Regions from separate parts of the Homo sapiens genome. Here regions 1 and 2 are each linked to region 3. The links are contacts of gene promoters, found by promoter capture Hi-C in blood cells and fetal thymus (Javierre and others, 2016). All regions are on one chromosome and are shown on one strand. Each heading gives the region's core, a stretch centred on a gene start or on the middle of the fragment in contact. The rest is flanking DNA. Distances are from core to core; before and after follow the strand shown. Region 1 overlaps ARF4-AS1 (ARF4 antisense RNA 1). Region 2 overlaps DENND6A (DENN domain containing 6A). Region 3 holds the start of APPL1 (adaptor protein, phosphotyrosine interacting with PH domain and leucine zipper 1).

Evidence for each region. The method cuts DNA at HindIII sites, captures the fragments that hold promoters and counts their contacts. A CHiCAGO score of 5 or more calls a contact.
Region 1: a fragment that was not itself captured here is called in contact with the fragment with the promoter of APPL1 in region 3 in 2 of 17 cell types (naive B cells and megakaryocytes); the score reaches 5.6 in naive B cells.
Region 2: a fragment that was not itself captured here is called in contact with the fragment with the promoter of APPL1 in region 3 in 1 of 17 cell types (fetal thymus); the score reaches 6.2 in fetal thymus.

Annotation. Positions count from the first base shown.
Region 1 is chr3:57,598,850-57,601,793 of GRCh38, reverse strand. ARF4-AS1 (ARF4 antisense RNA 1) reads right to left here. Exons shown (of 2, transcript NR_132370.1): 2 at 878-1,051. It also overlaps a transcript of PDE12 not described here. Among named protein-coding and RNA genes, the nearest start is that of ARF4-AS1, 2.5 kb to the right of the region's middle. The HindIII fragment of the contact is 2,797 bases long and covers 94-2,890 here.
Region 2 is chr3:57,682,682-57,685,734 of GRCh38, reverse strand. The region is part of intron 1 of DENND6A (DENN domain containing 6A); the gene reads left to right. Among named protein-coding and RNA genes, the nearest start is that of DENND6A, 8.9 kb to the left of the region's middle. The HindIII fragment of the contact is 4,499 bases long and covers 1-3,053 here.
Region 3 is chr3:57,226,356-57,229,528 of GRCh38, reverse strand. It overlaps APPL1 (adaptor protein, phosphotyrosine interacting with PH domain and leucine zipper 1), which reads right to left and starts at 1,800. Exons shown (of 22, transcript NM_012096.3): 1 at 1,592-1,800. The coding sequence starts at 1,645. It also overlaps a transcript of HESX1 not described here. RefSeq lists a silencer at 1,343-2,002. The HindIII fragment of the contact is 8,451 bases long and covers 1-3,173 here.

The DNA of each region.
Region 1 (2,944 bases), core at 243-2,742, 370 kb before region 3:
CAGCCTGGGTGACACAGCGAGACTGTCTCAAAAAAAAAAAAAAAAAAAAAGAAGGAAAGAAAAAAGGAAGAGATATGGTTTCCTTAATAAGCTTGCATTCTAATGAGACATAACAATCAGCAAAAATAATTATAGTTGTACCTGGGTATTTGGGGAGATTGGTTCCAGGATCCCCGTGATACCAAAATCTGCAGATGCTCAAGGCCCTTACAGTTGCCATTCTGCATCTGCAGGTTCCACATCTGCTATTGGCTGAATCTGTGGGTTTGAAACCTGAAGATACAGGGGGTCTGCTGTCTGTACATTATTAAACCCAAGGGACTGGAATGTAAATTCCATATACATATTTGTGACTAAAAAGATCTCACTAAGAAAAATAGTCAGAGGCTGGGCGCGGTGGCTCACACCTGTAATCCCAGCATTTTGGGAGGCCGAGGTGGGTGGACCACCTAGGTCAGGAGTTCGAGACCAGCCTGGCCAACATGGTGAAACCCCCTCTCTGCTAAAAATACAAAAATTAGCCGGGCGCAGTGGCATGTGCCTGTAATTCCAGCTACCCCGGAGGCTGATACAGGAGAATCGCTGGAACCCAGGAGGCAGAGGCTACAGTGAGCCAAGATCGCCCCACTGCACTCCAGCCTAGGTGACAGAGCAAAAAAAAATAAAATAAAATAACCAGAGATGAGGAAAACATACTACCTAGTGTAGTATGTTATGAGTACATGCTTTTGAGCCTGGGCAACTTTATACAACACTGTGTTCAAAAGCGATGATTAAATGAAGTACATGGCTTAGCAAGTGATCAATAAACTATAGCAATTTTTCTTGTAGGGCTCAATTTCCTCATTTTTAAAAATAAGAAAGATTCTCTTCTGGGTTTGTATTGATGAAAGGTGAATAGAAAAATATTTTATTTTTAAAATATTTTTTAAAATAGAAATGGCATCTCACTATATTGCCAAGGCTGGTCTGGAACTTCTGGGCTCAAGTGAGTCTCCCATCTTGGCCTCCCAACATGCTGGGATTACAGGTGTGAGCCACCATGCCTGACCTAGAAAAATAAAATAAAATAAAAATAAATTTGGGGTCTGGGCACGGTGGCTCACACCTCTACTACCAACACTTTGGGAGGCCAAGGCGAGTAGATCGCCTGAGCTCAGCAGCTGGATACCAGCTTGGGCAACATGCTGGTCTCTACAAAACGCCAACTCTACCAAAAATACATAAAATAGCTGGGCATGGTGGAATATGTCTGTGGTCCCAGCTACTTGGGAGGCTGAGGCAGGAGGAAAAAGGGAGGGGAGGGGAAGGGAGAGGAGGGAAAAGGGAAGGGAAAAGGGAACAGAAGGGGGAAGGGAGGGGAAAAGGGAAAGGAAAGGAAGGGGAGGGAAGGATGAAGGAAAGAAAAGAAAGAGAAAGAAAGAAAAGAAAGGAAAGAAAGAAAAAGAAAAGAGAAAAGAAAAGAATTTGGCCGGGAACAGTGGCTCAGGCCCATAATCCCAGTACTTTGGGAGGCCAAGGCAGACAGATTGGTTGAGCTCAGGAGTTTGAGACCAGCCTTGGCAACATAGCAAAACCCTGTCTCTACAAAAAATAACACTACTTAGCCAATGTGGTGGTGTACCTGTAGTCCCAGCTACTTTGGGGGCTGAGGTGGGAGGATCACTTGATCCCAGGAGGTTGAGTAAGCCGAGATGATGCCACTGTACTTCAGCTTGGGTGACAAAGTGAGACCCTGTCTCAAATAAATAAATAAATAAATGTAAGAAGGTAGTATAGTGTAGTGGTTAAGAGTGTTAATGGCTGGGTGCACTGGCTCACACCTGTAATCCCAACACTTTGGAGGCTGAGGTGGAAGGATTGCTTGGGCCCAGGAGTTCCAGACAGGCCTGGGCAACATAGCCAGAATCCACTTATTTATTAAAAAAAAAAAAAAAAAAAGAGTGTAAATACCAGTTAATACCAGAAGAAATGGGTTCTTATAGCTGTTCCACTGCTTTTAGCTGTGTGACCTTGGGCAGAATATTTAATCTCTCTGACCCTGATTATTTTTATCTGTACAATAGAGATATTACAGTCTGCCATTAACATCCTGTTTTGTAATTTACATTAGCCACTTGATGTGTAGTGTATTCTTACTGAAAAATCTGTTTTGACAACTTTTGTTTTGGTTCAGGTTTTGGAGGCTAGAGATGGAGAACAGAATTCTTTCGATTTATTTTGCATAACTAAACAGAAAACATGGATTAAGATTTGGAATAAGTTACAGGGAGGAGGGCTCATACGGTTTGTCTTTTGAATTTAAGAAGACCCTAAGAATTAGTTGAAGATTGTTTTAAGGAATTCTACTATATAAAACTAAAAACAGACATAAGGCCTAAAGTGTGAAAGGAAAATAAATCTTGGGGCCTCCACCTCACTAAGCTAAAGAGAAAAGTCAAGCTGGGAACTGCTTAGGGCCAACCTGCCTCCCATTCTTTAAAAAGTCACCCCTCTGCTCACTGAGATAAACGCATATCTGACTGCCTCCTTTGGAGAGGCTAATCAGAAACTCAAAGGAATGCAACCATTTGTCTCTTATCTATCTATGCCCTGGAAGCTCCCTCCCCACTCAGAGTCTTCCTGCCTTTGCTTTGAGTTGTCCAGTCTTTCCAGAATGAACCAATGTTCATCTTACATATATTGATTGATGTCTCATTTCTCCCTAGAATGTATAAAACCAAACCGTGCTCTGATCACCTTGGGCACATGTCTACAAGACCTCCTGAGGCTATGTCATGGACGCGTGTCCTCAACTTTGGCAAAATTAACTTTCTAAATTAACTGAGGCCTGTCTCATATTTTGGGGGTTCACAAAAGGATACAAGAAGGTCTTGTCACTTAGCAAGCTTCCAAAATGCAATTTTGAGTTATTCAACTGCTAAGCAACTCTTTACATGTATCT
Region 2 (3,053 bases), core at 418-2,917, 460 kb before region 3:
AAAAAGAATGAATGCTGAAGCAGATATGAGAATCTAGTTATTTCTGTTAAATCAGACATTAAAGATATTTGCAAACATGTAAACAATGCCATCTTAGTAAGGTTTTTGTTTTGTTTAGGAATACAGGTTGTGTGTTCCTAATCTAAACATTCAAAATCTGAGACGCTCCAAAACCTGAAACTTTCTGAGTACTGACATGATGCTTTTTAAAGGAAATGCTCATTGGAGCATTTTGGATTTCAGGTTTTTGGATTTGGGATGTCCAACTGAGTAAGTATAATTCAAATATTCTAGAATCTGAAAAGATCTGAGATCCAAAACACTTCTGATCCCACCAAGCATTTTGGATAAGGAATACTCAACCTGAATATAGTTACTTTTCATAAAAATTGAATATGTTAATGAGTAATAGGTTATTATTTTAAAATAAATAAACAATTTTTTTTAATGATACTTTTAGTTTCTACAGTGGTGAATGTTGATAGATATAACTCATATAAACAAGAATTCTAGGCTGGACGTGGTGGCTCACGCCTGTAATCCCAGCACTTTGGGAGGCAGAGGCAGGCAGATCTGCTGAGGTCAGGAGTTCGAGACTAGCTTGGCCAACGTGGTGAAACCCATCTCTACTAAAAATACAAAAAAAAAAAAAAATTAGCCAGGCATGGTGGCGCATACCTGTAATCCCAGCTACTCTGGAGGCTGAGGCAGGAGGATCACTTGAACCAGGGAGGCGGAGGTTGCAGTGAGCCGAGACTGTGCCATTGCACTCCAGGTGTGTGCCACCATGCCTGATTAAATTGTTTTATTTTTGTGTTGCCCAGTGTGATCTTGAACTCCTGGACTCAAGGGAACCTCCTGCCTCCACCTCCCAAAGTGTTGAGATCCCAGGCATGAGCCATTGTACCCAGCCTCATTTATTCCTTTCCGTCACTAATTATTAAGTAATATTTGGACTTTATTTATTTATTTGAGACAGGGTCATGCTGTGTCACCAGGCTACAGTGCACTGCAGCCTGGACCTCCCAGGCTCAAGCAATTCTCTCACCTCAGCCTGTCAAGTAGCTGGACTACAGGTGTGTACCAACATGCCTGGCTACTTTTTTGTTTTTTTGTAGAAACAGGGTTTTGCTGTGTTGCCCAGACTGGTCTTGAACTCCTGGCCTCAAGTGATCTGCCTGCCTCAGCCTCCCACAGTCCACCTGCCTTAGCCTTCCAAAGTGCTGGGATTATAGGCATGAGCCACCATGCCTGGCTTTAGACTCTTTTCTTGAAACAGAGTCTCGCTTTGTCACCCAGGCTAGAGTGCAGTGGCACGATCTCAGCTCACCGCAACCTCTGATTCCCAAGTTCCAGCGATTCTCCTGCCTCAGCCTCCTAAGTAGCTGGGATTACAGGCACGTGCCACCGCACCCAGCTAATTTTTGTATTTTTAGTAGAGACGACGGGGTTTCACCATGTTGGTCAGGCCGGTCTCAAACTCCTGACCTCGTGATCTGCCCACCTTGGCCTCCCAAGGTGCTGGGATTACAGGCATGGGCCACCGTGCCTGGCCCATAAACTCTTTTTTTTTTTTTTTTTTTGAGACGGAGTCTCACTCTGTCACCCAGGCTGGAGTGCAGTGGCACAATCTTGGCTCGCTGCAACCTCCACCTTCTGGGTTCAAGCAATTCTCTGCCTCAGCCTCCTGAGTAGCTGGGATTACAGGTGCCCACCACCACACCGGGCTAATTTTTGTATTTTTAGTAGAGATGGGGTTTCACCATCTTGGCTAGACTGGTCTTGAACTCCTGACCTTGTGATCCACCCGCTGCGGCCTCCCAAAGTGCTGAAATTACAGGCATGAGCTAAACACTTTTTAAATAAGGGAACTGGAACTTAAAGAGGTAACTTGCCCCATATCACTTGCTTAATAAGCCAGGATTTGAACCCTGGTCCTTTTGATTCTGAAGCCTAATTTCCCCCCACTATACTGTGTTGTTTACTATTTAGGGAAACTGAAGCAAAGAAGATGTGAAATGCTAGCGGTAGCTTGAACTAAAATTCTTAAATTCTTGGTAGTAATAGTTTACCTCATTTCTCAAAGTGTTCCTGTTTACATGCTAATACTCAGTGTAATAATAGTACCCAGGGCTATTTTCTGAGTTGTATGAACTGCTTTTAGCATTTTTGTGATCCTTTAGTTGGCAAAATGCTTTACCGTCCTGTGGAATGCACAGTAGATACTTGCTTCTGTTTGGACAAAAGACCAGCGTGACCTATGTCAATGACATAAAGTTGGATTTCCTGAAGGTAGGGTTTCTAACTGATAATAGTTTATAGCCATGGGCAGATGAAGTGAGATGATAATAGTTCTCATTTCTAGTGTATTGTGAGGATTAATTGATACAATACAGTGCCTGGCACAAGGAAAACACTTGATAAAGTTAGCAATTGTAATTATTTATTGAGTTTTTCTGAAATAATGAAATAATTACTCTTTTGGTCTAGTTTATTTGAATTCTATCTGTATTACTCATTTAGTGAATTCCTACCTAACCTTAAGCGTCCTTTGTAAGTAATACAGGATCAGTATGAGGGTAGCATCATTAAATTTTTGTTGGTACCTATTATAATAGGAGCACTGGGACCATTTGCATAGGCCATAATAAGTACCTAACATGCACAAAGGATTCTATTATGTTAATCAGTAGATGAAGACATGAGAATCCCTGCTCTCCAGAATTTAACTGAAGAGACAAGTAAGAGCATATAGTCGGCCAGGTGTGCTGGCTCATGCCTGTAGTCCCAGCACTTTGGGAGGCTGAGGTGGGTGGATCACTTGAGGTCAGGAGTCCGAGACCAGCCTGGCCAACATGGCGAAACTCCGTCTCTACTGAAAATACAAAAAAATTAGCCGGGCGGGATGTTGCACACCTGTAATCCCAGTTACTTGAGTGGCTGAGGCAGCAGAATCGCTTGAACTTGGGAGTTGGAGGTTGCAGTGAGCTGAGATCATGCCACTGCTCTCCAGCCTGGGTGACAAAGCCAGACTCCATCTCAAAAACAAAACA
Region 3 (3,173 bases), core at 551-3,050:
TATATTGTAAAACGGACACTAGTATGATGCATGCTTGTAAAGAAAAAAAAAAACCACAATTCTTAAGTTGTAAACTAATCTGGCAAAAACCTCAAGACATTAGATGAGTCAAGAGTTTATCTCTGCCTCACAAGTCATTTCCAGGGCAGTGTGCAATCCATTCTGAGCCGTTTATAGTCTTTATGGGCTATTAAAAAAAAAAGCCAAGTAAGAGAAGAAAGGTAAGGCAACCTGTTGAATCTTACATAATAAAAAGTAAAATGACAAAGTACACCTGACCAATTCCACAAACTTTTTGCAAATCATCTGAAACAAATACAGTTTATAACTTTATATGGAGAAATCATCAAGAAAAAAATTGAACCGAGTATACTGGCAGTCAAGATAAACCAAATGTGAGTTTCTCTTTTTGTCACTATCAGCTGTTAAGAGTACATTAGCAGCAGGCAACTGGCCTGTGAAGATAACTTTCAGAATAAAAAAGAACAAATCAATTCTACAATCAGAGCCCCATTTCAACTTGGCAATTAACATTGGCACAAAATCCATGGCAGAAGTGCCATCCAGGAAAAGGAGATCTAGACCTCTTCTGCTTTTCTTCTTTGGGGGCCATGTTCAACTGTAAAGACACACGAAATGGTGCAACTGCATTTCTAAATCAGCAACAATTCAGAAATGTTTCATTCTAAATAGTGTCCAACCAGCAACACCGTCTTAAACCGTTTAAATTATCGTGTAAAACGGCTTAGAGATGAAGTTTTCCCTATGCAAGTTACAGCCCCTGCCAACATTTTAAAAAATATAGCTGCTTTCATTCTGCAGTACTGAAAACATATTAAATGGTTACATTTTCCAAAACTGTCTTAAGCTAGAGCAACCACATCAGCATCATTCCGACGCACAGAACACAGGGCTTTTATTTTGATGAGTTTATTAAGGCCAAGTCTGCAGGGAGCAGCGCAGCAGTCGCGGAGCGGCGAAGGCACCGTCCATCCCTCGCCGTGCACAGCTCGAGTGACAGCGACCACAGTCACGGCCGCGACACGGGCACATTCGGCGGGGAGAGCGGTCTTGGGCTCCGGGACCCGTCACGGGCTTTGCCATTAGGGCTCCACACACAACCTTACAGCCTCTCCCAAAGAAAAACGATCCATTTCCTTCCTTAGCTTGCTGAGCCTCGGAAATCATTAAATAAGACTATCGGGGTTTCTCTCCCTTCTGCAATTTTTCTGAAGAGGTTCTCAGGGAGAAAATTCCAGGATCGAGATTTGGCACCTCACATCACCGCGATAAAAACGGCGCCTTTCGTCAAATAAAAAGGACCCGCGCGCGTACGTGACCGCCCGGCCCACGAGCACCAGCGGCTCGGTCTCCGCCTGCGGCCCTCGGCCCAGCCGAGCAGGCCCACGCGGGCCTTGGGCGGCGGGCCCAGCCTCCACAACTCCGGGCGCGGCCTGCGACGGGCGGTGACCTAGGGCGGCGGCGGCCCCCACCTGGGCCGGGGCGGGCACCTGCGGGAGCCGCGGAGGCGCCAGACCTGGGGTCGGCCAGCTGGGCTCTCCCTCGTCGCCCACCAGCTCCCGCGCCTCACCTGCGGGCTGTCCTCCAGCGTCTCCTCGATGGGCAGCTTGTCGATCCCCGGCATCGTGGCGGAGGGAGGGCGGTGGCAGGAGACGCAGCTGCCGCCCACAGCTCCCCGCGCCGGCCCGCCCGCCGCAGCTGACCCCGGCCCGCCCTCTCCGGCAAGGGCTGCAGCCGTCCCCGCCCGCACAGCCTTCTCCAGGCGCCGAGCGGCCGTGCGGGAAATCCCGCCCCCTCGGCCTCCCTGCCCCGCCTCCCGGCGCGTCCATTGGCTCCCGGGGACGCCCATCCGCGCTGCGGCGGTGGTCGGGAGGTTCCCGTGCGGCGCTAGGCTCTCCCGCGAGCGCGGGCGTCGGAAGCGGCGGAGGTGGCAGTGTCTGCCCTGGGATGGCCTTCCCTGCACGCGCGCGTTTGTATCTAAATCGCAGGGGACCGTCTCTTCCTCAGCTTGCCGGCGCGAGGAGCCAGAGCCTCGAGTTAGGGCCACACGGGGGAATTTGGGGCGGGTTGACTTTTCCCGCAACATATTTTGTCAGAGACCTTGGAGAAAGTCCTACTGCTGGCGCCTTTTAGTTTCCTCAGATGATAACATTCCCAACTCCGCTCGAAGCGTCCAGTCTTAATCCCCTCCAGCAGAATGGTGCTGACTAACTCAGATGTCTGAGATCCGCAGCTGTGTCAATAATAGGGCTTTCTGGCAAACTTGTGAACGTAGGCTCGAAATTGTTTTTCTGGACGCTTGAATATCAGTATATTCAGTTGAAAACATGTGATTTTGTTGCCAGTTTATCAGTTCCTACCTGGCCTCCCGAGGTCAGTCCTTCAGGACTGACGCTGCAACTCCAACTCCCATGTTTCTTTTAAATCACAAAGGAAAATATCTTTTAAAAATCAGGATACACTGATTAATTATGTTAGTAACTAATTGGCATTTGTTGAATCAAAAAGTTTTGGAAGCGTTAAATAGTTTTAGCCTCTAATTTTACAATAAAGTGAAGCTCAAAGTTGGGAATTTGACCGGATGAGGGCTACAAGCCTATCCTTTCCTCCTCCCTCTTCATCTTTCCCAACCTGTCACCCTGGCTCGTTTATGTCTCTGTATAGTTGTAGGCTTTCATCATTATACAGAGAAAATAACAAAGTAAGTAGTGTCTTCTAAACATCTAGCCATTAATTCCACCAATCCATTCCATTTTCATTCAAGAAATACCAGAGATGCTGAGTAAAGATTAATTAGCTGCCTGGTTCCACAGATACATGGGAACAAATCCAGAATAGTAGTAGCTCAAATCCAAATATAGTAACAAATAGAAGTTATATATTTTAAACGAAAATAGTAGATTTTCCCATGATCTCTTGAAAGAAAAATAAAATTATATTTTTAAAGTTTTGTTGAGTAGACTTGCATTGTAGTTTTACGGAATTATTTTTAGTGTTACAATCTTTAAAAGTTTTCCCCTTAGATTGTTTATCAGCCAGTCTCTCTCTCCCGAAGAGTTCTTTAGTTTTTGAGGAAGTTGATTTGGAGGCAGTTCTTACAATGAGTTAAGGGTTCCCAGTTGTGTTACAGTTTCTTTTTCCTTGATATCTCA